5 separate regions of the Homo sapiens genome follow, and all the other regions are linked to region 1. Evidence: promoter capture Hi-C in 16 types of primary human blood cells and fetal thymus (Javierre and others, 2016). All regions are on one chromosome and are shown on one strand. The core of a region is centred on a gene start or on the middle of the fragment in contact, and the rest is flanking DNA. Distances in the headings are between cores, read along the strand shown.

The links. The method cuts DNA at HindIII sites, captures the fragments that hold promoters and counts their contacts. A CHiCAGO score of 5 or more calls a contact.
Region 2: a contact is called between a fragment that was not itself captured here and the fragment with the promoter of INPP4A in region 1, in 3 of 17 cell types (non-activated CD4 T cells, total CD4 T cells and fetal thymus). The highest score is 6.2, in non-activated CD4 T cells.
Region 3: a fragment that was not itself captured here is called in contact with the fragment with the promoter of INPP4A in region 1 in 1 of 17 cell types (fetal thymus); the score reaches 6.8 in fetal thymus.
Region 4: a contact is called between a fragment that was not itself captured here and the fragment with the promoter of INPP4A in region 1, in 1 of 17 cell types (non-activated CD4 T cells). The highest score is 5.2, in non-activated CD4 T cells.
Region 5: a fragment that was not itself captured here is called in contact with the fragment with the promoter of INPP4A in region 1 in 1 of 17 cell types (non-activated CD4 T cells); the score reaches 6.1 in non-activated CD4 T cells.

Annotation. Positions count from the first base shown.
Region 1 is chr2:98,442,137-98,447,733 of GRCh38, forward strand. It overlaps INPP4A (inositol polyphosphate-4-phosphatase type I A), which reads left to right and starts at 2,722. Exons shown (of 25, transcript NM_001134225.2): 1 at 2,722-2,949. RefSeq lists a silencer at 2,552-3,191. The HindIII fragment of the contact is 7,361 bases long and covers 639-5,597 here.
Region 2 is chr2:98,843,205-98,848,801 of GRCh38, forward strand. CRACDL (CRACD like) reads right to left here. Exons shown (of 10, transcript NM_207362.3): 2 at 3,527-3,606. The coding sequence starts at 3,596. Among named protein-coding and RNA genes, the nearest start is that of LINC02611, 74 kb to the left of the region's middle. The HindIII fragment of the contact is 2,972 bases long and covers 593-3,564 here.
Region 3 is chr2:98,822,533-98,828,129 of GRCh38, forward strand. It overlaps CRACDL (CRACD like), which reads right to left. Exons shown (of 10, transcript NM_207362.3): 6 at 4,443-4,637; 7 at 1-1,005. Among named protein-coding and RNA genes, the nearest start is that of LINC02611, 53 kb to the left of the region's middle. The HindIII fragment of the contact is 8,017 bases long and covers 1-5,597 here.
Region 4 is chr2:98,800,346-98,805,942 of GRCh38, forward strand. The region is part of intron 7 of CRACDL (CRACD like); the gene reads right to left. Among named protein-coding and RNA genes, the nearest start is that of LINC02611, 31 kb to the left of the region's middle. The HindIII fragment of the contact is 728 bases long and covers 3,209-3,936 here.
Region 5 is chr2:98,773,928-98,779,524 of GRCh38, forward strand. No RefSeq gene overlaps it. Among named protein-coding and RNA genes, the nearest start is that of LINC02611, 4.8 kb to the left of the region's middle. RefSeq lists enhancers at 1-451, 757-1,634, 4,633-5,197. The HindIII fragment of the contact is 3,905 bases long and covers 1,326-5,230 here.

The DNA of each region.
Region 1 (5,597 bases), core at 1,472-3,971:
CCCACTTCTAGAGTTTCTGATTCAGCAGATCTGGGATGGGGTCTGGGAATTTGCATTTCTAGCAAGTTCTGGGAGGATGTTGATGTGACTGGTTAGGGACCCCATGTTGAGAACTTCTGAAGGACTGAGATACTTTACCACCAGCATACTTAGCTATCACATCGTGATGCTTAGGGAAGATATAGCATGATATTGTAAACCAAAAGGTGTCTGAGACAGATCTGTCAATTTAGAGGTTTATTTTGCCAAGGTTGAGGATGCAACTGGGAAAATGAGGCACAAACTACAGTAGGATCAGTAGGATCTGTGGCCTATGCTTTTTCCCAAGAGGGTTTTGGGGACTTCAATACTTAAAGAGGAAAAAGTGGGCAGGAGGGGAAAGAAGAACAGTGAATTATGCATTTTTACATAAGGTAAGTAAACAGAGAGTAGAGGAAGAGGTCAAATATGCATTTGTCTTGGGGTGGGTGGAAGGATGATTCCTCCGCTTGTCTTTGTCCCATTCCTGTGACGATAAGCTGTTAATTTACATTGTCAGGGTGAGGGAGGCCACCTGGGGAGATATGTGGCCTTCTATCTTGCAGCTATCTCTTTAGGAACAAAAGGAAGGCAGTTTTTTTTGCATGATTCAGTTCCCAAGCTTAGCTTTTCCCTTTGGAGTAGTGAGTTTGGGGGTCCCGAGATTTTATTTTCCTTTTACAGTATTAACTAACACATGGCTCCCTTTTCTCTTGATAATTTTCATTCTACGGTGGAATTAGGGCCTCATTCTTTGCCACACTGAAAATGTGATTGATCTTTGAAGATTATCCAGAATTACATAACAGTCAAGTGACAGATGTTATTGGAAGCTGATCCTCATTCAGTGTTACTGTACTAAATGAATGAATACTGAAATTAGACTGATATCTATTTTTAAATCTTTATAAATTTAATTTTTTTTTCTTTTTTAAAAGTTAGTGTTTAACAACTTTCTTAGCTTGATTATGACTGCCAGGCGTGGTGGCTCACGCCTGTAATTCCAGCACCTTGGGAGGCCGAGGCGGGTGGATCACCTGAGGTCAGGAGTTCAAGACCAGCCTGACCAACATGGAGAAACCCTGTCTCTACTAAAAATACAAATTTAGCCAGGGTGGTGGCACATGCCTGTAATCCCAGCTACTTGGGAGGCTGAGGCAGGAGAATTGCTTGAACCTGGGAGGCAGAGGTTGCGGTGAGCCGAGATCGCGCCATTGCATTCCAGCCTAGGCAAAAAGAGCGAAACTCCATCCCAAAAATAAATAAATAAACAGCATGGCCATAAAATTTATTGTTTGAACAGGAATACATTTGAGAGTGAAAGAGGGCCCTATTAATAATTTTGCTGCAAAAAGATGTAAACTGGGGCTGTTCCAAGCAAACTAATTGGTCACAGTAATTAAAAAAAATGCAAAAATATTTTTGCATTTCTACAAATTTGATTTTCTTGGCTTTAACTTTGTACTGTGGAGTCAAGGTTCTGTCAATATTTCTTTCCATTTAGCTGGAGAAATAATAAGAGGGAACTGTTTTATTACTAAGTTACTTTTCAGAAGAGAAATAAAATAAAAAGTAAAGAAATAAAAATTTAAAACTAGGACATTTTCTTTTTCTTTTTTCTTTTCTTTTCTTTTCTTTTTTTTTTTTTTTTTTTTAGAGATACAGGGTGTTGCTCTGTCTCCCAGGCTGACACTGCAGCCTCAAATTCCTCTGCTCAATCGATGCTCCTGCCTCAGGCTCCCCAAAAAACTCGTTTTATATTTGTTTATTTTTATTCCAGACTATTGTCTGTATTTTGGTGACATGAGGAGGATCAGACATAATTCTAAATGAGTTCAGAGAATTCTTAATTTCCATTCCTAACTGGTTAATCTCTTTTGTTTTTGAAGCAAATTATATGTTTAAATGCTCTGCCTGAGAAGTATTCTGGTTTATTGAATTAAAATCATTTTAAGAATTTTTTTTTCGGATAAAATGTGAAGACTCAAAGATAAGGATACATTCAGTCCAGTATTTGCCCTTGCTCAAGGAGAAATGCTGTTTTAAAGTCAAAGTGAAAATTTTCTTCCAAAACTTCTGATTATTGTTTTTGTCTATGGAAAAATAGAAACTTGGGGCAAAGTGTAAGGACTGATGCTGTTGCAAGTCTGTTAGTGCACACTTATGCACACAGGCCAGAACAGGTCCGGAAGGACATACACTTAGAGGTTAGCAATTTTCTTTTTTTTGCAAGTCTGTATTTTCAAAGAATTAAGATTTTAATTTTTTGCTTGTCTGGTTGGAATGTTCAGTTTCCTAAACATCTCCTGGGGAGTGAGTACGTCTGCACTTCAGGAAGTGCTCTTGTCCGGAGGGCAAAAGGTTGGGGGCGCATCCCCGGGTCGCGGCTCCTCCAGGAAACTTTCCCTTGGGGATCCGTCAGGGCCTCAGATGCCTCAGTGGATGACAGGGTGAAGATGCCATCGCTCAGTCAAGTCCAGAAGTTCAAGAACTCCTTGCAGGTGAAGCAGTCACAGGATAGGGTGGGATCTTGTGGGAACCTAGCAGTAGGAATTGGCGCGAGCAGCTCGGTCACCGGCCCTACTGTCTCAGAGGGCGGACCCAGCTCGGGCTGGTAGTGGGGCGGGGGTCGCAGGGCGCGGGCCGGGCCCTCAGCGCGCATGCGCGACAAGGGGGCGGGGCCAGGGCGGGGCTGCGCCCGGCGTCTAGAGCGGCGGCGGCTGGCTAGGGCTGCGGCGCGCGTGGAGGGTTCGCTGCTGGTTTGCCGCCGGGTCGGGCTCCGTGGGCCGGGGCAGGAGGACCAGCACCTGAGGCCGGGCCCGCAGCCCGCGACTTCACAGCCAGGCGGCGGCGCTGCTGCTGCTGCGGGGCTCTGGCGCGCAGCCCGGCGGGACAGCGGGGCGGCTGGCGCCGGGGGCCGGGGAGCGCCAGGTAGGTGGGCCGGGCCGGGCAGGAGGCGACGCGGCCGCCGCGGGGGCCGGGGCCGGGGACGGACAGCGGGCGCGGGGGCGCGTCCAGGTCCCCGCTGGGGCGGATGTGGACGGCGCCCGCGGTTTTCATGGAAATTGCACTGCCTAACGGTGCCAGTGGTCCACCTGCGGTGGCGTCTTTTGAGAACAATCCGAGCCCGGCCGACCCCCAGCCCCGTGAAGACGCGGCCGCCCCAGCAGGGAGCCGGGTGCCGAGCGGGCGCGTGGCCGCGGGACGCAGACGCGGTGCCTGCCCGATGCGGCTCCAGGGCTGGGTCTACGGGCTCCTGAAGCTGGAGGCCTTGCCGTGTTTGGGGTGGAAACATAACCGGGTGAAAGTAAACATGCATCTCCGTGTGGGAAATCTGGTCTCCATCCTCGAAACTCTTCCATTTTCTGCCTGCCTTTAGACCCCGACAACATTTCTAGCATCTTTGCTTTCTATATTTTATTTCTCTCTGGCTTTGCTAGTCAATTAATTGAGGCCTGAGAAATGTGCAGGGATCTGTGGCTGTCTCTTGAAAAGCCAGCCAGGAATGGGTAGGCCCCAGAAGACAGACGTTCAAAATGTCAGAGGTAAATTTGTGTCTTTGTGGGCGAAGGAAGGGAATGTTGATGGTCTCGCTTCCCTTCCCCTGTCGCCTGCCCTCTGACATTACATAATGATGGGTTCTTCCTGCCCCGAGTTCATCCGTAATGACAGACCATGAAAATGTTCCTCTGGGTAAGAAAGACCTATATGTGGTAGAGCCCATCTTCTCTTTTGCTTTGCCACTGAATGTGTCTTGTGTTGGGAACCTGCCTAAGAGTGGAATTTGATTTGTCGCCTGCCCCTCAGGGCATTTAAACCAAGGGAATGGGGGTGGGGTGGCGATTTGGGTGTTGCAGAGAAATTCTGACTGGTCCATCTGTTCACAGTGGGTTGTGTGGACCATGGGGAAGCCAGTGGGGTTGAGGACAGAGTGGGTTGACTTCGGTGTGAATCATGGTTCTGCCGCTTGCTGACTCTGGTTCTTATCTCTAAAAGGTGAGAGCAGAGCCTTTTTTGCTGAGTTTGTTTTGGAATCTAGCTGCTGTTGGCGTTGGCCAGTGCACGTAGAATTGCTTGCTATAGGTTGTCCTAGAATTGAGCCTAATTTTTCTTTGGTTGAAAAACACACTTTCTTTAACGGAAATTTTGTTTTTGGATCTAGGCTAGGGCATTTGTTTTGGGGGTTCTTTGCTGAAGTGTCGACTGCTAATGTACTGTTTTCTTTGAAGAAAGATGAATGATGGGGCCCATGTAAGAAGGGCAGTGTGGTTGGTCTGTTGCAGGAGTGGTGCCAGGAGGCCGTGATGCTGTCTGTCCCAGGGGTGGCGTTGCATGTGAACGGGCCTCTCGGTGCCTCATTCCCTGTGATGTCTAGTAAACACGCCTGTGAAGCCAGAGCTGCTTGGTAGAGTTTGGCTTGAAGAAAAGGCTTAAAGAAATGGATGTGGACAAATTCAAAGAGAAAGAAACATTGTGTTTCTACTGAGCTCCTTATAGAATTAGTCTGCTTACCTGGCCACCTTACTCATCATGTAGCTACTTTTTTCATTTAGATTATTCTGTCTCAGGGTGTTTAATCTGCTTGGGTAAGTCTTGTTTCCCAACTAGATTCAGAACCAAGGGCAGATATTATAGTGCCTCCCTGTTTTCAAAACTGGATATTTTGTAGTATTGCTGTTAAACTGAATATTAGCGTTTTTTAAAAAAAAATCACTTTAAGGAAGGATGAAATAAAATAATACACGAGAGCTATTTGTAAACTGTAGAGCACTAGAAAAATGGGATGTGTATGACAGAGAACTATCAGCCCTGCAAGTCCCTTTAACCAGCTGCCTGCCTAAGAGGGAGCGTTCTCAGCCAACATCTCTTCAAATGCACACGGGAATGGACCTGAAGGCGGTGTGGGACCGACTGCCCCACTGATCCCCAGCCCAGGGCTTAACATCTCAAGAGTTCAGTGAGGCAGAGTGGAGGGGGAGGCTTTCCACCAAGACTGTTTCATCCTGTTTTCGTTTTTAAATGAAAAGCTCCTTTTCAGTTTAGTATTCCAGAAAAGTTGCCACAACATCATCAACTACTCATGGTGTCAGGAGGCTTTGACTTTCACTGAGAAAAAAATAGCACAAATCTGCAGCGAAAAAGGCTTGATTATGTTGGTGCTTCTGTAGAACTTGATTAATGAGCTGGTCTTGAGAGAGCCTTCGAAACGGCTTTTTTTTTCAGTGTCCTAAAACAGAAGTTCTGTGAGGAAAACATATTTTGAGGAGACCAATATTAACGCCCATGCAGGCTTGCTTCATTTTGTCTCTGTGTTTTTAAGGAAAATACCATCATGAAGCTAATCCCAGGGAATTTACCTATATTTCTATTCATATGCACATGTTATTCTCTAATTTTTTTTTTTTAGTATTTTGATATAGTTTCAGACTTACAGAAAAGTTGCAAGAATAAGCCAAAGGTTTCTCAGATTCTCCAAATGTGGACATTCTGTTACACTGCTTTATCATTCTCTTGTATTCCTGTGTGTTACTACTTTTTCCTGAACTGCTTAATAGTAAGTTGCAGGCTTGAGGCCCTTT
Region 2 (5,597 bases), core at 829-3,328, 400 kb after region 1:
AGCATGATTTAAAATTTGCTCCCCATTTTGTAACTGAGTTATTTGTTTTCTTATTTTTGAATTTTGAGAGTTCTAAATATATGCTGGATGTAAGTCCTATATCAAGTGTGATTTATAAATATTTTCTTCTAGTCTGTGACTTGTCTTTTCATTTTCTTAAAAGTGTCTTTCACAGACCATATTTTAAAGTTTTGATGAAGTCCAATTTATACATTTTTTCCTTTTATGGATTCAGGTATTATATCTAAGAACCCTTGCCTAATCCTTGGTCATAACTATCTTCTGCTATGCTTTCTTTTAAAGGCGTTAGAGTTTTACATTTAGGTTTATGACACATTTTGAGTTAATTTTTGTATAATCTGTGAGGTATATTTGCATATGAATGTCCAATTGTTACAGCACCATTTGTTGGAATATTATCTTTTATCCAATGAATTGATTTTGCAATTTTGTCAAAATTAATTAACCATATTTGTATGGGTCTGTTTTTGAACTCTACTCCCTTCTGTCTCTGTGTATCTATCCTTTTGCCAATACCATACTGTCTTGATTACTGCAGCTTTATAGTAAGTCTTAAAAACAGGTAGTATGAAGCTTTCAACTTTATGTTTTTTCAAAATTGTTTTACCTATTCTAGTTCTTTGCTTCTTCACATACATTTTCAAGTCAGCTTGCCAATATCTGCAAAAAGTTTTGCTGGGATTTTGATTGCTTCATCTTTACCCCTCCTCCTCCCTGTTTCTGATGGGTTATTTCAAAAAAAATCATCCCAGGCACTATTATTATTTCACCTCTATGGACTTGGCTTTTTCCTAAATGAAAAAAATCTCTGACTCCTCATGGAAATCAAATTAAATTATTACTTGTCAGTATTCTTGCTACAGAATATTGAGCTAACTGTATGTCTGTCTTCCATAACTGACTTTTAAAGAGTGCACTGCAATCTCGGTATATTTGTGTAACAGTTCTAAGTGCTTTTTTGTATATGTTGTATAAACATGTCATCTATAAATAGAGATAGTTTTATTTCTTTCTTCCACCTCTCTGCCTTTTATTCCTTTCTCTGGCTTTATTGCACTGGCTGGGTGCTATGCCACTTTTCCCTGGATGTTTTAAAACTTTTTTATTATCTTCAAACATAGTATGCATAGTTGTTTTATAGGATGTATTTGGTAATTCTGATATTGATGCCTTCATGTGTCTGTTTCTCTTGTCTGCCTTCATGTGTGCATGGTGTTCTCCTTGTGTGCATATCTGTGGCCATAGTTCCCCTTTTCATAAGGACACCCATCATATTGGAGTAGGAGCCCACCCTATTCCAATATGATCTCATCTTAACAAATATGAGCCCACACTACTCCAATATGATCTCATCTTAACAAATTACATCTGCAATAACCCAGTCTTCAAGTAAAGCCACATTTGGAGATACTGGAGACTTCGACATATGGATTTGGTGGGAGCACCATTCAACATACAGCATGTTGGTTCTCATTCATAGTATCCTGTTGCCTTAGATGCCTGGTTATTACTGACTATATGCTTGTCATGATACTGAAAATATATTTTCTGTGATAATTTGAAGTCTAAATAGAAGGCACCTTCCTTTAGTGAATGTTATTTGCTTCTGAAAAGTACCTGGGTTTGCATCCAGTCTAGAAGCAATATTAATCAAGTTCAAGGGTTGAGGTTCTCTGAATTACCCAAATGATGCAAACTCAAGCTACAAATCTACAAAAGGGTTGGTTTACCCCTAGTTCACACCTACTCAGATTTGGTAGCTCCTTGGCTCCCCTTTATTGTAGAGAGTGTCTTCTATTAGACAGCCTACATTATACAGGCCTTGTCGTTTGATATTTGACCCTTGCTCTCACCTTCCACCCCATGAAGACATGAAAATTTCCAAGACTGGTAAATGATCTAAGGGCAAAGTGGCTTTTATACTCTGTTGTCTCTCCAGGTTGCCATTTTCCTTTTCTTTTCTTTCTTCTTCTTCTTTTTTTTTTTTTTGGAGGCAGGGTCTTGCTTGTTGCCCAGGCTGGAGTGCAGTGGCATAATCATGGCCCACTGTAGCATTAACCTCCTAGGCTCACACAATCCTCCCACCTCTGCCTCCCAAGTAGATGGGACTACAGGTGTGTGCCACCATGTCCAGCCAATTTTTAAATTTTTTTGTAGAGACAGAGTCTCACTATGCCCAAGCTGGTCTTGAACTCCTGGGCTCAAGCAATCCTCCCACCTCGGCCTCTCAGAGTGCTGGGATTACAGGTGGAAGCCGCTGTGCCTGGCCCATTTTCCTTTCAATTCTGGCCTTATTATTTCTTACTTTGAAAAATATTTTAAAGAATATTCTTATCTAGAATTTTAAATTTTAAGTGGAAGAGGGTTGGTCTGAATAACTTAAGATCACTATTTGAAAAAAAGAAAACTTAGTCCCTTTTCTTCAGTAACCTCTGTATGTATTCAGAACTAGCACTTATTGAGGTCATTTCAGGCTGATGAAATATTTATTCAAACATTTATTGTTTACAATAAGTAATAATTCAGTGTCCCATAATATGAGAAAATGTGAAACTCAATTTTTTTTCAGGGCTCATCTAAAAACCCTCACCTTATATTTGGATTTATTTGGTATCCATTGAAATGTGACAGAGGAAAAATGGTTCTAATATGAAATAATAAGAAAAAATCTATCTTTAATATCTGAAATGGAGTATTTGCTGAAATTAGTATCTGAAGCTAGTGGCTAGCAGCTAGGATTTAATATTATTGGGAGCTGTTTCTCCTGAACTATATCAAAGAAAATCACTACTGGCATTTTCAGTGTAAATAAGAGAGAGATGGAGGCCTTGGTCACCAAAATAAAGGGAGTATATGAATGGCAAATCTAGAGAAAAGGTACATTGTGGGGAGATTAATTTTTTAATGTCAATTTTACAACTCTATCAGGACATAAATAGCAATATTTGGATAACAGTAAACCAATGACATAATTGGAGAACTCTTAGAAAGTCTTATGAGATGGTGATTCATGGGCCTAGAACTCAGCTCAGCAGACAACATACTAAAGATCTCCTTCAGAACAAAAGTCATGAAGGAGAGGGATCAAAGGCTCTCTCCTGATGTAATTATTTTTTTACAGATGATCAGGCTATCAGGTACTTTGCTCAGCTTCCTACTGATGCCTTTGGATATTCTTAGATGGTGAATGAATCCATTTAGTACCTCTTCCTTTGCATTCAAGTCAGCCAAACATGGGGACATGCTTACCTCCAGAAAGGAGGAAAATGAGCTGAAAGGTCCCCGTGCTTGACACAGAAGCAGAGGAAATCTGCCCCGAGCAGCCTTAAATAATGTGCATGTGCCCCCAGTCACAGCGTGAAGGGCCTGGGGGTATCTGAGCACACTGGGAACTAAATCCCCACTTTTCATACAGAAAGCCCCAAAGGCCTGCCTCTGTCAGTCCCTCTCCCTGCCCCACAACAAAGCAAGTGCCCTCCCCAGAGCAGGGGAAGCAGGGCCTTACCTGTGCTGTCCTCCCCAAGGCCTTCTGCAGCCTCCCGAAGCTTAATGTCCATCACCCTTGTGGAAATCATGTCAAGCTCGCTGAAATTATATGGAAATTCACGTTAAAGAAACATGGTTAGCAGAAGTTACCAATGAGTGAAATGGTGTTCGTGACTGCATTTGCCATGATCTGGCCTGCACACACCCCAGCAAAGACAGTCCAGGGCAGAGTGCAGCACAGTACAGGCCAAAACCATATCCACAGCCACAAGATCAGTAACCGCATAAGCGTTTAATCACTGACTGGGGCAATTTAATGGAAAACAGATCACTGAAACAAATGCTTCACTAATTTACACACTGCAGATTAGGTTTCTTTCAAAAAAGCTTTTCTCAAATTATAAGAAATGATTTTTTTCTCTTGTTTACTACAGGAAGTTTGGAAAATAGAATGAAAATCACCCATAATCCAACCAACCAAGGATAACCACAGTTAATGTTTTCATTTCCTTCCAATAATTTTTTACGCAAATATTTTATCCACATGCACACATATCATATTAGGAAGCTTGACTTCCTGATTTTCTTACTTACACCACATCATTAAAATTATTCACGTGTTATTTTAATGGCTACCTAATATTTTGATATACTACTGTACCATTATTTATTTACATTGAAATTCTTTTTTGAATGCAATGAAAAATGTCAAACAGATACAAAAATATGAACAACATATAATGAACTCAAGGTATGGCTAATCTTGCTTCATCTTTACCCCCACACCCCATCCCACTCCTATGAGGTGATTTCTAAGCAAATCATCCCAGACATGATGATCATTTAATCCATATAAATTCAGCTGCTTCCTGAATAAAAAAATCCCTCACTCTTCATGGAAACCAAATGCATGATCACAGGTCAATATTCCTGCTACAGAATACTGAGCTAGTGGTGTCCATGCCTTCCATAACTGACTGTTACAGTATGCTCTACCTCCATATACTATCACACCATTTATTTAGAAAGCTATTTCTTACTGTTAGGTATGACGAATCCTCACACTTAAAAAGGGGGGCTTGAATATTTAACCAATTCACGTTTACCACTTGTACACAGCACAGAATGGGAAATGATGGGAGAAATGCAAAGAAAACACAAACAGAGAAAAGGATTTGCGGGTGTGTGCCCGAGTTGGCTCTAATATTTCGATTTCTTCTAATGTTCATCCTCCCTACCAGCCAATCCCTCAAAAGCTGAACAAAGTTTCACCAGCTCCAGCTCTCAATGTTCATACAATTTGGCTTCAAAAAAATGTCCGGTCTTGTGTCGGCTCTGCCAAAAACTCTTGGAACCTCACCAGATTTGACTCATGATCATGCTATCATTATCTATAAAATGAGGGTTGGACAGAAACAGTATTTTTCAAATCCTTTACCACTGTTTTAGGCTTCAAAGGACATCCTTGCTTTCATCATCTGTGTTCACATTCAAAGCAACAGACAATGCTATCAAACAGCAGAATGATAGTAGTTCTAGGCTGATGGCCCAACCCAAAGGCCCAGGTGTTCCAAAGGTCACCCCCTCAATCCCCCCTGCAATATGTTAGTCAGTCAGCAACCCCCTCATCCCCAAGAGTCCTTTAGAGGTGGTAGCTGCCGGGGATTCAATGGAAGAGGCAATGGAGAAGGAAAACATACGGTGTAAGGGGAAGAGTGAAGATGGTGAGGGTGGCCTAGGAGTCACCATCTGTTCCCCTCAGTGCCATCTCCTGAGGCTGCCACTGAGCTCTAGCTCAGTGCAAGAGTTTTCCATTGCCTGAATTTGGAGTTAACCATGGCAACTGCAAATTACTTATCAAGCATGCAGCTATCACCTGAATTATCTCATTTAATCCCCAAGAACTTTTAATATTCCCATTTTGGAGATGAGAACATTTTTAGCTCACTGCATCCTCAACCTCCTGGGCTCAAGAGATCCTCCCACCTCAGCCCCCCCACAAATAGCTGGGAACACAGGCCCACGCCACCACACTTGGCTAATTTTTTGTATTTTTTGTAGAAACGGGGTTTCGCCATGTTGGCCAGGCT
Region 3 (5,597 bases), core at 1,918-4,417, 380 kb after region 1:
TCGGCACGAGGACACCGAGAACTTCTTCGCGCCTCGCAGCTCGGCACCGCCCCTCTCCGCCTTCCGCTCTGGCGCCGCCCTCTCGGCGCCCGCCGGTGGCGCCTCGGCTCGCTCGGCCTTGGGGCGCTCCGGGGCGGCGGCCTCTGCGTCGAGGGAACCGGGGCCGGGCTCCACCGGGGGAGACTCCGCAGCGGCAAGCGGCGGGGACGCGGCGGGGCCCTCGCTGGCGGCCGCGGGCCGGTGTTTCAGGCAGCTCTTGGGCGCCGGCGGGCTCGGGGCGGGCGCCGTGGAGGGCTCGGTCCCAATTCTCTCGGGCTCGGTCCCCGCTCCTCTCTCGGGCTCCGTCTCCGCTTCTCTCTCGGGCTCAGGCGCCGGCCCTGGGGGCCCCTTCTCCTCATCCGGGAGCACGGGCGGCGTCGGCTCCGCTTCCTTCGGGACACTGCGTTCTGGCCCGTCGCGAGCAGAGGGCGCCTCTGAGGTGGCGGCGGGGTCAGTCTCGGGGGGAGTCGTGTCCCCCTCAGGGATGGCGGTGGGAAACGGGCTCGCGACGTCTTCGGGAGCACAGACCACCTCCTCCGCCTTGTCCGTGGCCGGGGCACACGGGCCTGCGGGGGGCGCCTCCCCATCCTGCTTTCCGCCGTCGGGACCGGGATTCGGGGGGCCCTCCGGCGGGGACGGGGGCTCCACGCGGAGAGTGGGGGCCGACTCGGGCTCGGCGAGCTCCGGGGTGGCCGGGCGGCTTGAGGGGTCCTCCCCGGGGACGCCCCCCTCCTCCACGCTGGCCGTGAGCGCGGAGGAGTGCTGCAGGCGGGCGCGTCTGGCACGGGCCCCTCCGGGTGGCGGCAAGGGCGCCGGTGGCCCAGGCTCAGGGCCTCTGTCTGGCGCCACGTCCTGCTGCCCAGAGCTGGGGCGCTCTTCTGGGCTGACTTCCAAAAGTGGCTTCTCCTCGTTTTCCTCCTCCTCTGGGGTGCACGTCAGGTCGCTCAGGGATTCAGACTGAGCGCGCTGAGAGAAATAAAGATAAAAAGCATCGTCGCTATAGCCAATTCCAGGAAGCCTGTCACCTCCCCACTTTTTTCAAGGCTTATAATGGTTTAGTGATAGCAGCACTATAAAGCTGGCACTTAAGTAGGCATGTACCCACGGGTGTCTTTTCTCAGTCTGTATCCTACTGGTCTACTTGGGCTCACAAGTTTATCAGGACAATGGCAGATATGCCTCCAAAGTAAATGTCTACAGCTCCTCTGGCAGAGCCTCAAAACCAGTGGACTAGAGTAACGCCAAGGGAAGGCGACCAACAGCAGCCAGTGTCTGCTATGCTCTGTGCTCCCACACTTGTTATTTCATTTAATCTTCCATTCATCCCAGTGAGGAAGGGATGATGAGTCCCTTTTTGCACTTGAGAGCCAGGAACTCAGAGAGGCCAATACCTTGTTCAAGCCTGGGCAAGCAGGTGGCCGAGCTGAACAGCTGGGACTCTATGGCTCTGTGTTCCTCCCAGCCAGTCTCCCATGTCAACACTTCAGGAATGTACCCTCATAGTAAAGCCAGACTGGTTTTCCTAAAAGATGGCTCATATCATGCCAATAGCTAACCATGGCTTATAGGATAAAACCAAAATTTTCAGCTAAATTTAAAGTCCTAGATTCTCTGGTCTTAAGCCGTTTCTTCCACTCCCTACTCAGGTCAAACCAAGCCCTCAACACTGTGCCAGACACTTGGTCTGAGTGACTGTCACCTCCCCACTCTCCCCCACCCCCCTGCCCCCAACCTCCAAGATACTCTACCAGGGCCCCCAAGGACTATTTCAAACTCTCCCACTCTATGCAGTTTAAGATTCCCCCCTTCTCTGGCCTCCTGAAGCCCTACTGGCTTGGCAAACATACAGTGCCTTGTGATAGTCTTCTTCTGAAAGACCTCTAGAATTCAGATTCCAGTCCAACTTCCTCCTATTGTCACAAAGTCAGTTCCTGCTCTCTCGGGAAGGAAAGGAGCTCCAGGTAACCAAGAATCATTCAAAAGTAACATGTGGAAATGACGAAAAGGTTGATGGTGTAGAGACTGATCTTTTAGAAAGTTTGTGATATTAGACACCAAGAGTCACCCAGGCTATTGCTCTCTCCTTCCCCTTTTCTAAAGCAGGAACTGTGACAGGGTATGTTTGCAATAGGTTTTTCTTCTTGCTGTTTGTTATTATTTTAACATTTTTCATGGCATCTGCTTGCTAATAGAATATAGGATGCCTGGGATGTTTGTGACAATACCTAAGCAAACTCTTGCCAAAATGCACAATCCTATTCTTTTGGATTTAAAAAGAGGAAGAGGCACAAAGAAAGCTACAGAAGAACTTTCAAAAGCTGCAGGTTCTTTACTTTGCCATGTTGATGGCCTTCTGCTACTACAGGAAACTGCTGATGTTGAAACCTCTTTAGGATGGAGGTCACCTTTTAAAACTATCAGTCACAGAGCCCACACAAGGCAGCAGAGGGGGCAGCATGGCTGTTCTTTCCCATCCTGGGAGCATTTAGGGAGCATCTGAAAGCACCTTGATCCCTGAGAGGGGCCAGGCCACAAGGAAGGTCCTTATGGTTGGGAAGAGGGACCTCATGACCAACGGGCAAAGGGTGCTATGGACACTGAAGGACAGAGGCCCCCGGCATCATAGGTTCCACAACAGTGGATGGAGGAAAATATGGACACCTCTGAGAACTTCAGATATCCATGCCCGCTCCTTACCAAGCAGGGAAGGGGAAAAGAGGGAAAGACCATGGATGTGACAGAGTTGAAATCAAGGAAAGGCTGTTTACCTGTTTGCCCAGGCTGGCTACATCAGGTTTTCTGTTATTCTACAAAGTGGGATTCAAGAACTAAGTCAAGTTCAAATGTAAAGAAAGAAGGATATAAGCCCTGCCCAGATGGGAGCAAGAAGGGAGGCTGTGTTTCCACCTGGAATAGACACCACGCTTCGCTCTGTCACCAAGTCCTGGCCAGGTTGTGGCTGGCTATAAACGCCCTGGCCAGAGCCAAAGACATCCCCGTGGGATTCATAAATCACAGACTTGAGGGCCAGAAGGGAGCAGGCCCTGGCCCTGTAGTCTCATTCAGCACGAGTACAGGCAGGTCTTGAGTGACCGGACCTTGTCACACTGACACAGCACACAGCCTTTAACTGTGCATGCACTGGACACACACACCTAGGCACAAGTATCCTGGTTCCTAGCTGGCACATCAGCCTGAAGGTAACTCACCTTTGCTTCTTCCTCCAGCATTAGTCCCCTCAAAAGTCTACTCTGCTGGCATGAGTTTAAAGAACACCTTCCATATGCCCAAAGGAAAACTCACTCTCTTCAGGGAGTTGCTGAACTCCTGAGTGGCCCTAGCCCAACTGTCTCCAGCTGAGGCACCCAGCTTGCCCTGGGTACTTCACCAACACACCACAATCATGTCATGAGGGAAGGACAGAGGACATTAGCCTGTGAGCATCTCTTTATCAGCACTGTCATTCTCTGTGGCCAGGCTGGTCCCCACTCCAGGGGGGACGCGTTACAGTGCCCGTCAGGTAGGGGAGAGGGAACAACCCTATGTGAACCTCGAACCTGCCAGTAAATGAAGCCAAAGTATTCCATGAGCCAGTTTCTCAGCTTCTAGGACTAGGAGGTAACGACACCCTGAGGCAGCACACCCAAAGAGGGGTCTGTCTTTCCGAGGCATGCTCCCCATGCTACTGAGTAGGCCCTCATCCAAGACAGTTGTCCACGCTAGTGTTTCAGCTTCTTTCATTCACTCATTTGTTAATTCACTCATTTGTTTGTTCAGTGGTTCATCCATTCAACAACTCTGTGACTAGAAATGTTCTAAGGGCTGAAAATGCAGCCAGGACAGGGTCTCAAAGAAGACTGGCAATAAGAGCACATCCATTTACAAAGGTCACTTTGGCATGTGGCGAGTGTTCTGAAGGAAGTGAACGGGCAGGGTGAGTTTTTCTGGGGGACTCTCAGGCCCCAAGGCTGGGACACAGCAGCACCAAGGCCTGAGGCTAGAGGCAGCTCTTGAGCTCAAGAGGCAGAAAGGTGGCCAGAACGCTGAGTGAGAAAGAAGGTAAGAAGCCTGGGGGGTAGGCAGGACCTGATGTGCCAGGCCTGGAGCGTGGACTTTCCTCTGAGTGCAGGGGGAAGGCAACCAGTATTCAGTAGTGAGTGTGTGAGGAATGACGGACAGACGGATGGATGAATGAATGGAGCATTTCTGCAAGGGAGAGACAGATCTGGTTTATGTTTAAAAAGATGAGCAACTTCAGCTCCTGCAGCATGGCTCCATCAACTGTGGGGTGCTCAGAGGGGGCATGAGACCCTGTGTGGGGGAGTGAGGCAGGTTGGGGGGGGGCATAGGGGGGTGCCAAGCCTGCCTGGCCTGCCTCTGTGTGGAGAAGGAAACCCAATTACCGATGAGAGCCGCCTCATCTTACTCGACCGCTGGTTGCGGGGCTTGACCTGGAGCTTGTGCTTAGCTGCAGAGTTGTCCAGGCAGGAGGAGGATTCTGCAGGATAACTGAAGTCAGCCACTGGTGCCAGGCTGTTGTCTGAGATCCGGGCAGAGACGGTGCTGTCGCTCACGTGGTCTGGAGACACGACAGAGACCTTCGTGGGACAAGGAACAAACACACGGAGCATGAACTTCACCGTGTGAAATAAGGACGACCAACGCAACAATGCTCTTTTCTGCCCAGGCTGTCTTCCCACACTGTCTCTGGCTTTACGTGTGTGGAAATACTTTCTTTTTTTTTCCCCCAAGATGGAGTCTTGTTCTGTCACCAAGGCTGGAGTGCAGTGGCGTGATCTCTGCTCACTGCAACCTCTGCCACCTGAGTTCAATCATTCTCCTGCCAAGTAGCTGGTATTACAGGCACCTGCCACCACACCCAGCTAATTTTTGTATTTTTAGTAGAGACAGGGTTTCACCATGTTGGCCAGGCTGGTCTTAAACTCCTGACCTTGTGATCCGCCCGCCTTGGCCTCCCAAAGTGCTGGGATTACAGGTGTGAGCCACCGCACCCGGCCAATACTTTCAATTTGATTCTCAACAAGGAGGGGTCTAGGATCCTTCTGGAGAAAGGTAAATGGCTGGGAGTTTAAAGTGTGGGGCCAGCTCCTGGAAACCAGCTACTCTTTCCCAAGACCATGCAGAGAACCTGTGTCTCAGGCTCCCCTGTCACCCTCCCATGGTGGCTGGCACAGGCACTTCAGACAAGAGCTTTCTCTCTCAAAACACACCAGCCTGATTTGTCCAAGGGCACAGTCACCTGGTCCTGTCTCTGGAAGCTGAGGGGAAGGTTCAGAGGTGTGACTTTAGAGGCTGGGGCGCAGGAAGTGCAAAGCCCACTGCCCAGTATTCCATCACTGGAGCCCTGTTGGTTCAACCTAGAAGGTCTCTGTGTGCTCATGTATCCTTTTGAAGAAATCTGGCTGGACATTGCCATCTGTTAAGTTACAGGTATTTTACTCATTTATACTTCAGCACGGAAGAACTGATAGCAAATGGCAAACATGTCACCTGGGACAAAGGGATGCTGGCAGTCATGTGAAAGAATGAAGGCAATA
Region 4 (5,597 bases), core at 2,323-4,822, 360 kb after region 1:
GGTGGAGGAGTTGTGTAAACCGGCCCCAAGGAAGGGTCTTTTCTGTCTTTTTTCTTTTTCTGTCCATAATGGGGACACTGTGGGGGTTTTAAACCATGGGCTCACTCTGAAGGTTGTGTGGAGAATCAGTCTGACTGTAGAGGGACGAGAGGCTGGGAAGCTAGGAGGGAGGCTGTGGCCACAGCTCAAGAGAGGTGACAAGGGCTTGGATATCTTGTTCTAGAATCCTCCCCGCTGGTTCACCAGGGTCCCTAGACACTACCTCCTCCATGAAGTCTGTTCTGGTCAGTCTCTCTCCTAAGTCCTCTGTAACCTCTCGAGACACTTGCCTCACTATGTTTGGTACTAGACATGTTTGCTAGCTGACCATCTACCCAACTGAAGTATGCCTTTGGTCATAAGCATTTCTTATCTACCGAACAAACACACACCACAGACTATGTACCAGATACACTTCTAAATGCTGAGCTTGGCAAGAGGTAAATTTTCCTTTCCTTACATCAGGAGCATGCTGGCAGAATTCCATCCCAAACACAGAAGGGTCACCTGCTGCTGCCTGTCTGTGGGGTAGGAATGTTTCCAGCTGTACTGTGTGTGTGTTTTAAGCGTGTGTCTGTGTTCACATGCAGACCCACGGGAGTGGGTGGGTGCCCTGGCTGGGCCAGGCCATGCTGCTGTGGGATAAGGTAACCTGCAATAGCAGCATCGCCAAGCACTGGGCCAGCTTATGACCACACCACCATTTCTCTCCTTTTTGGTTCCTGCCTCTTTCCCTGCAACTGCTGGTCTTTCCTTTTATTCTGTATTCTCTTCTTTCTCACCTTTTTCCTTGTCAGGAATGCAAGAGGGCCCTTGTAATCTCTAGGCCCTGTTACAGGGACTGTCCAGGGCCACCCTCATTGGCAGAGGAGTGCAGGAATGGCAAATGGGGGTCTAGACACCAGGAAAAAGAGAGAGAACCCACTCCAGCTCCATAATGTAGTTCACAGATGCCTGAGATTCCACCTGGAGCCTCTCAGCAGATAAGCTGAGAAAGGGGTGATGGGCTGAGCATCACCTTCCACAGTGCTGAGCCTCAAAGAAGCTGTGCCTTTGTCCCCAGTGAGCACAGGCAGAGCAGCTGTGTGATGAGCCACTCTGCTCTGTGGCAGGGGCCTAGGAGGCCTCTCTGAACTGTATGCTTGTAGCAGGTGTAGACACTTGCTAGTGTGGTGTGAAGATTCCATGACATAATCCACGACCTATGCCTCCCAGTGTGGTTGTGAAGTGAAATATCCACTGTCTATATCTCTCAGTGTGGTTTTGAAGATAAGTGAAATATCCACTGTCCCTCTTGGTGTGATTGTGAAGATTGGGTGAAATATCCACTGTCTATACCTCTCAGCGTGGTTGGTGAAGATCAGGTGAAATATCCACTGTCTACACTTCCCAGCGTGGTTGTGAAGATTCTGTGAGAGAATCCAGGGAAAGCCCTTAGTGGTGTTAGTTGCTGCCACAATTGCTGCTGTTGTTATGTGCTTGTTGCTAGTGTTGTTATTGTTCCTGCTGGAGGAGGGGTGGAGAATTTTGGTCAAACCTTACCCTGGAGCTTGATGGAGACCAGAGAGCCATTCTGCCATGACAACGAGCCCTCGTGGCTGTTGTGATAAGAAAACCACAGCAAGCAATGGGTTGCACCCCAGCCTCTTGCAGGGTCAGGCAGCCAGGCTGACTCTTGGCTCCCTGAGAACATCGTCCACGGGTTCCAGCAGACCATCTCAATGCTGTGTGTGCCAGTCTGCCTGCAAGCCCTGTAAGGGCAGGCGCCTCATCCTGGTCACGTCTGCCACAGTGTGTGAGAGCCAGCGGGTCTGATCGGGGCTGCCCTGCTGGCGCTGCATCATGGAGGAGCCTGGCCCAAGCCACACCAGTGTGCACCGCAGTCCCGCTATCCACGGCGGCGCTCTCTCCTCCATGCACACGCTGTGTGTTACAGCGAGCCTGGCCATCCCGGATGCAGGACACACTGCCCGAGATGAGAGCCGTTTTCATCTGCATTCCCAGGAATCACTCTTAAAATACCTCCACACAGAACTCTCCTGTAGGAGAGGATGACAAAGTTTTCAGACCCACATTTGGCATTATTACTGAGCTATTTGTATTCGGGAAGATCTAAAATGAACCCTTTCAAAAATCCTCAATGTTAAACCATTTCTAGAGGTGTTCAACTACGCCTACGTGGGACAGATTCGTCTCATCACTTCATTTTGACTTTCTGATAGGTGATGGTTAGTTCTTTTAGTGCCTATTAAAATTCAGCCTTAAGGTATTGTTTTTTTCTTTCAGAAGGACTTCTGCTATGACGAGTTGAGGGGCCCAGGGTGGGACCCCAATGGTGGGCCACACCCCGTATGACACTAGGGATGCAGCTGTTAAGTCTGGAAGCTGAGGGCTGTCAAGCACAGTCTCCTGAGAGGCAACGAGTTGTCGTACAATGTAAATTCCCAGGTTGCTTGCCTTTTGGCTGAGGATATAAAGCACAGGCTCTGCCTTAAGGTAAGGCAACAAGATTTCCAGGCCTCTGAAAAATTTGGTACATGGTGTCCTTTCTGAAGTAGCAACTTTTTCAGCCTCCTGAGTAGCTGGAATTATGGGTGTGAGCCACATGCCTGGCTTTTTTTTTTTTTTTTTTTGAGATGGAGTCTCGCTCTGTTGCCCAGGCTGGAGTGCAGTGGCGCAATCTAGGCTCACTGCAAGCTCCGCCTCCTGGGTTCAAGGGATTCCCTTGCCTCAGCCTCCCGAGTAGCTGGGACTACAGGCATGCACCACCACGCTCAGCTAATTTTTTGTATTTTTTAGTAGAGACGGGGTTTCACCATGTTAGCCAGGATGGTCTCGATCTCTTGACCTCGTGATCCACCCGCCTCAGCCTCCCAAAGTGCTGGGATTACAGGCATGAGCCACTGTGCCCGGCCATGACTAGCTAATTTTTTTCTAAATTAATTTTTGTAGAGATGGGGTCTCGCTATGTCACCCAGGCTGGTCTCCAATGATCTTCTCACCTCTGCCTCCCAAAGTGCTGGGATTATGGGTGGGAGCCACTGCACCCGGCCTGATGCAGCAATTTTTAAGAAACTTTTTCTTTTCATAACATTTCTTTCTTGTTCATAGAAGTACACAAGCATATTGTACAGATTTAGAAAGTAGATAAAAGTATAAAGGAGAAAAAAGCTTCCCATAAATCAACAACCCAAGGGAGCTGTGTGAACACTTCATACTTTGGCATATGCTACTTCCAATTTTCTCCATTATGCTGTCATCCTAAAAATGCACATCAACAGCTCATTCCCAGGTCTTCACAACATTCTCTGTGGAAAAGAGGCCTGAGTTTGCTAAGACTTCGGATCTAAAGTGGATCCATCATCGCCATTTCTCACAGCCAGCTGTGCTAGAACAGTCACTGTGCCTCGTTGCTTCAACAAATAGAACAGCGGTCCTCTGCTCTGCCTGCCATCCAGGTCCACTGCCACAGCCCTGGTTGACCTGGTGGAAATGGGACCTGTCTACAGACACTAAGAGGACTTCTGGGGCAGAGGTGGGCCCCAGGCCCTGGGGACACATGGGGCCACACCACTGCGGCAGGGTTTGTCAGGCTTCCTAGATAAACAGCTTGAGGGGTTTTGCTTTTTAAAAGCCATTTATTGATCTGTTGTCAGTCTTGACTCACAGGCTGCTCCTGATCAATACATGCTGGCAACGTCTACAGTCGCTCGTCATCAGATCTGTCCCAGAGCCAGGCTGTGTGATCTCACTGTGGAACTCAGGGTGGTAATGCTCAACCAAGTCTTCTTCTCAAAACCATGCTGAGCATTTTGAGACTGAGCAAGAGCTTTTCAGGGCAGGCCCCCACTGCTAATGACAGGAGACGGTGCTGTGTCCCAGTTCCACCTTAAATTAAGCTTACCGCCATTCCTTCCTCTCCTCATTCAACAAATAGAGTCAATCATCGCTGTGAGCTGACTCCATATTTGAGAATTCGCCTACTCGCTAAAATACATTTGTAATCCCAAAATCAATATGCATGGTGTTGGCATGGTCATTTGCAAACACGTGCAGGGCAGCAAAACATTTGAGTTTCCCAATGTGCAAGTTCCCAGCTGAGGTCAAGCAGTGATGCGCCGCCTTATTGTTTTAGCTCTTACACCGTATACAGTATCTTTTTTGTAGTCTACTCAGTGCCACATTTTGGGGCACTAGGTTTTCTTGGTGATTCTGCTGGTTAGGCTGCCAAGTGGAGTGCTGATGTGCTGTCTAATGTTCCTAAGCCCAAGGAGGCTGTGATGTGCCCGATGGAGATAATGTGTGTTTCAGATAAGCTTCATTCAGGCCTGAGTTACAGTGCCGTTGGCTGTGTGTTCGGTGTCAATGCGTCAACAATATATACTAAATAAAGCATCTTTAAACAGAATTACACCTAAAACAAGGTTATGTGTTGATCTATTGATGCTGTGGCAGGAGACACACAGGAAGCTAACCTTGCATTTCCTCCAGGAGCAGTGGCTCAGTACTTGCTAAGTTAGCTTGCAGTGACTTCTCAGAGCATAACTTCCTTAGACAATGAGAACGGACTGGACCTGGTGGGTGCCCACTAGGTGCCAGGCCCTGGGGAAGGTGCTGAGTCTAGACAGGAATGATTTTTTTGAATCTTTCTCTCCAGTGCATGGAGACAGGCTCTCCTGCAAAAGCCATCAGGACCAGAGGATCTTCTGACAGCCACCATGGTCCACAATCAGGAATGAGTTCCAGAGCCTGCTGAAAGGGGACACGGCAGGGCCTCTGGGGTGCTGGTCTCATTCTGTTTCTTGGTCTGGTGTATTCAGTCTGGAAATGCACTGAGCTACACACATAGGATCTGTGCATTTCTCTGTATGCATATTATTCTTCAATTAGAAGTAAAAGCACACAAATAACAAAACCCCCCCTAAGACAGGAGTCACTAGGTGCTTGAGAGTGACCAGGAAGAAGAGCCTAGCTCCCTGTGCACATAGAGAAATGAGGCAAGTTTGCACCCAGAGCTGTTTCCACACTGCAATTAAGCAAGGTGCCCCGGATGCCCTCACCAGCAGACCCTTTCCACCGCTTCACTACCCCACAGCTTCAAGTGCACCCTCCGTAGGGCCTCACCCCCTTTGCCTTTTCTAACCACTGCCTCCCCTCATCCACACAATCTCCCTCCTCCTCCACCCTCCAGAGCCTCCCCTCCTCTTGCTCCACTTCCTCTCCTAAGTGGAATTGCACAACTCAGCGAGTGCAGAGGATCTGACTCCACACAGACTCACTTTGCAGCCTAGGGGCAAACAGAAGGACACTGTTTCTGGAAGCTTCTTTCCCAGCCACCAGCATGGGGCTGCCAGGGCCAAACTGCCCTCATCCCTTACCTGACTCCCAGGTCAGGAGGCACTGCCAAGGGCTCCTCAGCCGGCTCTCCTGCTTTCCCAGGCCAGGCTTTCTGTGGTTTGAATTTCCCAACTGATGCTCAGAAACCCGCCTCCCGCTGGGCCACATATCTCTTTTCACACAAGCTTCAACTCCACATGGCAGAAAGACAAAAGCCACTG
Region 5 (5,597 bases), core at 2,028-4,527, 330 kb after region 1:
CTCTCCAGCCCTGTCCCTGAAGAGTTTTGTGGAGGTCACATCCCTTAGGCATGGTAGATTAAAACACTGGGCATTGGTATGTACCTCAACCTCCAGTCCTTCTCATCTCCTTGGAAGGGAGACGGGGGAGCTGAAAGTGCTAACCCTGTAGTCACGAGGTTGGTTCCTGTGGCAACCACTCCCACCTGAGGCTCTCTAGGAGCTCACTATAAACTCAGGTATGGTTAGAAGGGGCTCATCTTGAATAACAAAAGACATTCCTCTCACCCTCATCTCTTAGGAAATCCCAAGGCTTTTAGAGTTCTCGTGCCAGAACCAGGGTGGAGAATCAAATGTATCTCTTATGACAATGACACAGGGACTGTCATAGGAAGAGCAGATTTGTGTGCAGGGGAGGTGTCTAGATGTACAGGTGCCTACTGGACTTCCAGAGACCAGGGGAGGCACATGGCGTTCAGAACAGAGGTCTGGGAGGAAATAAAGGTGGGAGTTGTTAGCATACAGATGATAGCAATGTCACATAGATGAAAACAAAAATTTTCAGCAAGTTTTCATGGATTTTAGAATAAATTCTAAATGCCTAAGCATGGTCTCCAACAATGCCCCCGCCCCTCAGCTTGCCCTTGCTCTTGGTTTGGGTCTCAGCGCCGGCTCCCCTCCTCCACCCTCCCTTGCCCCTCCCCTTCATCCACTTCCTGCAAGATGGTGGATGCCATACCTGCCTTGGGTGGTTCGGGCTTCAATACTGAAATACCATAGACTGTGTGGCCTATAAACAACATGCTTATTTTTCACACTTCTGGAGGTCTGGAAGTTCATGATTAAGGGGCAGATTTAGTGTCTGGTGAGGGCCCAATTTCTGGTTCATAGATGGTGACTTCTGTCTGTGTCCTCCCATGGTGGAAGGGGCGAGGGGGCTCCCTGGGGCCTCTTCTTGTAGGAACCTATCCCATTCATCAGGGCCCCACCCTCATGACCTAACCAGCTCTCAAACGCCCCACCTCCTAACACCAGCACACGGGTGTTAGGCTTCAACATAGGAATTTGGGGGGACATCAACATCCAGACCTCAGCAGGGCTTCTCCTGCTTACTCCAGCAGATCCTCTGGCGGTGGTGACCGCCATGTGCCCTGCATGGAAGGGCCGTTCTGTCTCTGCCCCAGGACTTGCCCAACTCCTCTGCCCAGTGAGCTGACAGCCCACTGGGGGCAGAGACATCCTTGTCACTAGCCCCGTGTTTCCTCAGTGCTTACCCAGTGCCTGGCTCATGGTGGATGTTCAGTGAGCATGTGTCAGAAGAAGACATTATGCTGTGAGCTCTCTGAAGCTTGTGAGCTGGCCCCAGGGAATGCAAGTCCAACTGTCTTTGGTGTTGGAGGTAACTGAACACCAAGTCCTGGCCAGTCTCTCCCGGATGCTGTGCACTGTGTTCTCAGGGAGGCAGGAGGACTCGCAGCGGATGCCAGGGACACGTGCCCATTTCTTCCTCCCACGTCAGCCTCCCCTTTTCCGGCCACATTTCAAACAAGTCTCAAAAGCCTGACCATGCCATGTAGCTTTTCCAAACTCACCTTGAGTAAACACACAGCTGCTGCCTCTCACCCACTGAGCTCAAATCTATCATCATTTTTGTATTGTGCACTCATGTATGGTTTGGCTGCATGCAACAAGGTGCCGATCTGCCTCTTCATGGAAGCATCGAGGGTCTTGGACCGTGAACTGCTGTGGTGAGACGACGAGAAGGGGACATTGGGATTTAGCAGTTGGCACAAGGCCTCCTGGAGCAATTCCAGGACCCCTCTGGGGAGTTACAATGGTGGTGACAGGGAAGATTTACCATCTGGGACTGTGCTAGGTGCCAAGCGAAGCAGAGCTTGTCAGGTTCCTGGAACCGAGTATTAACGATTCCAATCAAGCAGGAAATGTCTGTGCCTGTTCTTTGCTAAGCTGGATTCCTCGCTCACTAGGCATCAAGGTGCCTGCGGAGTACGCTAGGCATGAGAAAGGTCTCGGGAGGCCGAGAGTGCCTGGCCTGCCCTCTGGCCCCACCCCAGGTCACGCTTGGGGTCCCTGTAGGCTGCTCACTGGTAATGGAGGAAGCCTTCATGGACTTGGGTCCCATCAGGCTGGCTCTCGGAGAAGCCCTGCAGAACTGTGGTTTGGTTTTAATGAGGGGAGAAGATTCCAAAAGTTTATCATGAAAAGCCCCATGACCACCTGTGTTTTAGAGACTTTGATGACTTCAGAGGCCTTGAAATACAATCCCAGAGAAAAACAGTCAGCTTTGGACATGTGTGTTTGTGTGTGCGTGCATGTGTGTGTGTTTTGGTGGGGGATTCCTAATTCTCACCCCCTAGCCTTCCTCCTGAGCTGGAAGCCAGCCTTGAACAGGCAAGGGTGGGTTCTTAACTTCCTCAGAGCTGGCTGAGAACCACAGAGGCAATTCCAAGTCAGATTAAACCCAGAGCCTTGTTCCAGCTTCTGTGTTTAAAGGGAAAGTCATTGTATATTCCTCCTGGATGCCCTCCTGCCCCCAGAGTCTCACTCCTGTGTCTGAACAGTGGGTGACTTCTCTCAGTGAGCATAGTTTTTGTTGATCATGATTTGCCAATCTGTTTCTGAAGTGGGGGGAAATTATAGCTGGTAAATTCTCAGTCTGGACAACACACAATGTCACTTTGCAATAAAATGTGTGAGGACAGATAAGATAGTTATTGTCCTTGCAACATTAGAGATCACCATTAGGTGGTATATTAGTCTAGATTCTCAGAGAAACAGAACCAGTAGCATATAGATATACAATTATGTACTGTATAACAATGTTTTGGTGAATGACAGGCCACATATGCAACAGTATTTTTATTGTGCCTTTTCTCTCTCTTTTTTTTTTTTTTTTGAGATGGAGTCTCTCTCTCTGTTCCCCAGGCTGGAGTGCAGTGGGGTGATCTCGGCTCACTGCAACCTCTGCCTCCTGGCTCCTGGGTTCAAGCGATTCTTTTGCCTCAGCCTCCTGAGTATCTGGGACTACAGGAGTGCACCACCACATCCAGCTAATTTTTGTATTTTTAGAAAAGATGAGGTTTCCTGATTTTGGCCAGGCTGGTCTCAAACTCCCAACCTCAAGTGCTGGGATTACAGGCATGAGCCACTGCGCCCAGCCTTACTGTGCCTTTTCTATGTTTAGATACACAAATACTTACCATTGTGTTACATTGCCTAGAGTGTTCAGTACAGTATCGTGCTGTATAGGTTTGTAGCCCAGGAGCAACAGGCTACACCACAAAGCCTATAGGCTTGTTTAAGTGCGTTCTATGATGTCCACACAATGACTTAATTGCCTAACAATGCGTGTTTCAGAATGTATCCTCATTGTTAAACAATGCATGACTGCATATGAAGAGATTTATTATACGGTATTGGTTCACGTGAGTATGGAGGCTGAGAAGTCCCACAATCTGCTGTCTGCAAGCTGGAGACTCAGGAAAGCTGGTGGTTAATTCAGAGGCCTAAGAGTTGGAGGGTCAATGGTGTAGATTGAGTCTGAAGGCCTGAAAAGCAGGAGCACTGGGGGAAGATGGCAAGCATCAGACAGAGAGATGGCAAATCCTCCTTCCTGCTCCATTTTTATTCTGTTTGGGTCTTCAATAGATTGGGCAATGCCTACCTGTATTGCTGATGGCAATCTGCTTTACTGAGCCCACTAATCCAAATGATAATCTCTTCCAGAAACACCCACACAGACAAATACAGAAATAATGTTTAACCAGCTATCTGGGCAACCAGTGACCTAGTCAAGTTGAAACATAAAATTAACTACCACAAGTGTCATGGTAGCTTTTTTCCCTCTAAGTAGCTAAAATAAAGGTTAGACAATGCCCATTGTACCCTATTACAGAATGAAGGAATGAAGCCTACACTCTTTGGCATTCTGAAAACAGAGTTGCCAGCCAGGTGTGTCCCTGCATCAGCACTGGGAGCTGTTTTTCATTCCCCAGGTCCAACCCTGTCATAAAAGCGCAAGCTGAGCAATTAACAATTTGCAGATGATATTTAAGCAGTGCCTCAGAGGGAAAAGAAAAAAACAACATGCCCTTTCTTTTCTGTTTTTAGTAACATTCTTGGTAACATATTTATGCATTTTGTACAGAGGACATAAGTAAATATTGTGGAAAAACACATTTTATACCTTCCAAGGCCTTAATAATCATGGCAGTTATCAAAGGCCCAAGAAGGCCTCAGCACTAAATCACGTGGCTTCAGAAATGCATGAATAAATCTGTAGTCAAGCCTTTGCAGAGGAAATGTGAACTACAAATCAACTGGCCTCAGACAATTCATTTATTTAATTTGTCCTTTGGATTTACAAAGAGATCCAATTAATTTAGAGATGCTTCCATTGGCACTTGCTGCTCTGGAGGGCCCCTCGCTGAGAATATTGAGTTCCTGGAACCAATGACTCACATCGTTTATTTCTGTGCATTGTGCTCAGCCCCTGGAACCCAGCTTTCCCAATTTTAGAAGGTCAAGGGATTAACCTGTTCAGCATTTTATTTATGTATTTACTTATTTGAGTCTCACTTTGTTGCCCAGGCTGGAGTACGGTGGTGTGATCTTGGCTCACTGCAACCTCCACCTACAGGTTTCAAGTGATTCTCCTGCCTCAGCCTCCCAAGGAGCTGGGAGTTACAGGCGTCCACCACCACGCCCAGATAATTTTTGCATTTTTAATGGAAACAGCAGTTCACCACGTTGGGCAGGTTGGTCTCAAACTCCTGGCCTCAAGTGATCCGCCCGCCTCATCCTCCCAGAGTGCTGGGATTACAGATGTGAGCCACCACATCAGGTCCTTTCAGCATTTTAAAGGGAACTCATTACCTAAATTGAGATGCTAAAAGGACTTTGCCCCAAGGGAGAACTCTTCAAGCTGACAGCCTGGCTTGGAAAACACCCACTGGATCACCAAATACTGACTGAGGCTTAAAGAGAGTTCTAAGAGCCTTTGTTGGGAACACCAAGCCCAGGACCACTCAAGCCAGTGTGTGTTTGGGCTCAGAACTCTCTGGAATGATTCACCTCACTCTCAGTGCAGCTGAGGTTGTTGACGTCACTCTTAGCTTCCCAGGCTGTTAAAATATCAATCATACCAATACACAGGGAGAAAGGAGAAAACAGTTCAGCCTAATGGATTAATGACGTTCTTTTGAATACCTCCTAGAATATGAAGAACTGAAGCTTTCCTCAAGATAACCTTTAGGAAAACTAACAGCTTCAAAGAGAAGAACCAAGATAAGCAACCCAAGGTTGGTTCCCAGGGAAAGGAGAGACGATTCAAGATGTGGACGTCTCAGAGCGCCATGTCAGCACATTGCTTCCAAGAAACAACAGTAGGTTGACCCAGTAAAGGTGCAGAGAACAAGAGTTCTTGAAGATTATTGGTTAGACTGAAAATTGAAACGTGACATGATTTTGAGTATTTACTGGAGTATAAGAAAAAAGAACCCATGTGACTTTGATGCTTGGAACTGATTTAGTACCAGTGAATTATATTTATTTCTCCAATCACACTACTTAGTTCTGCAATGACTAATATTTATATA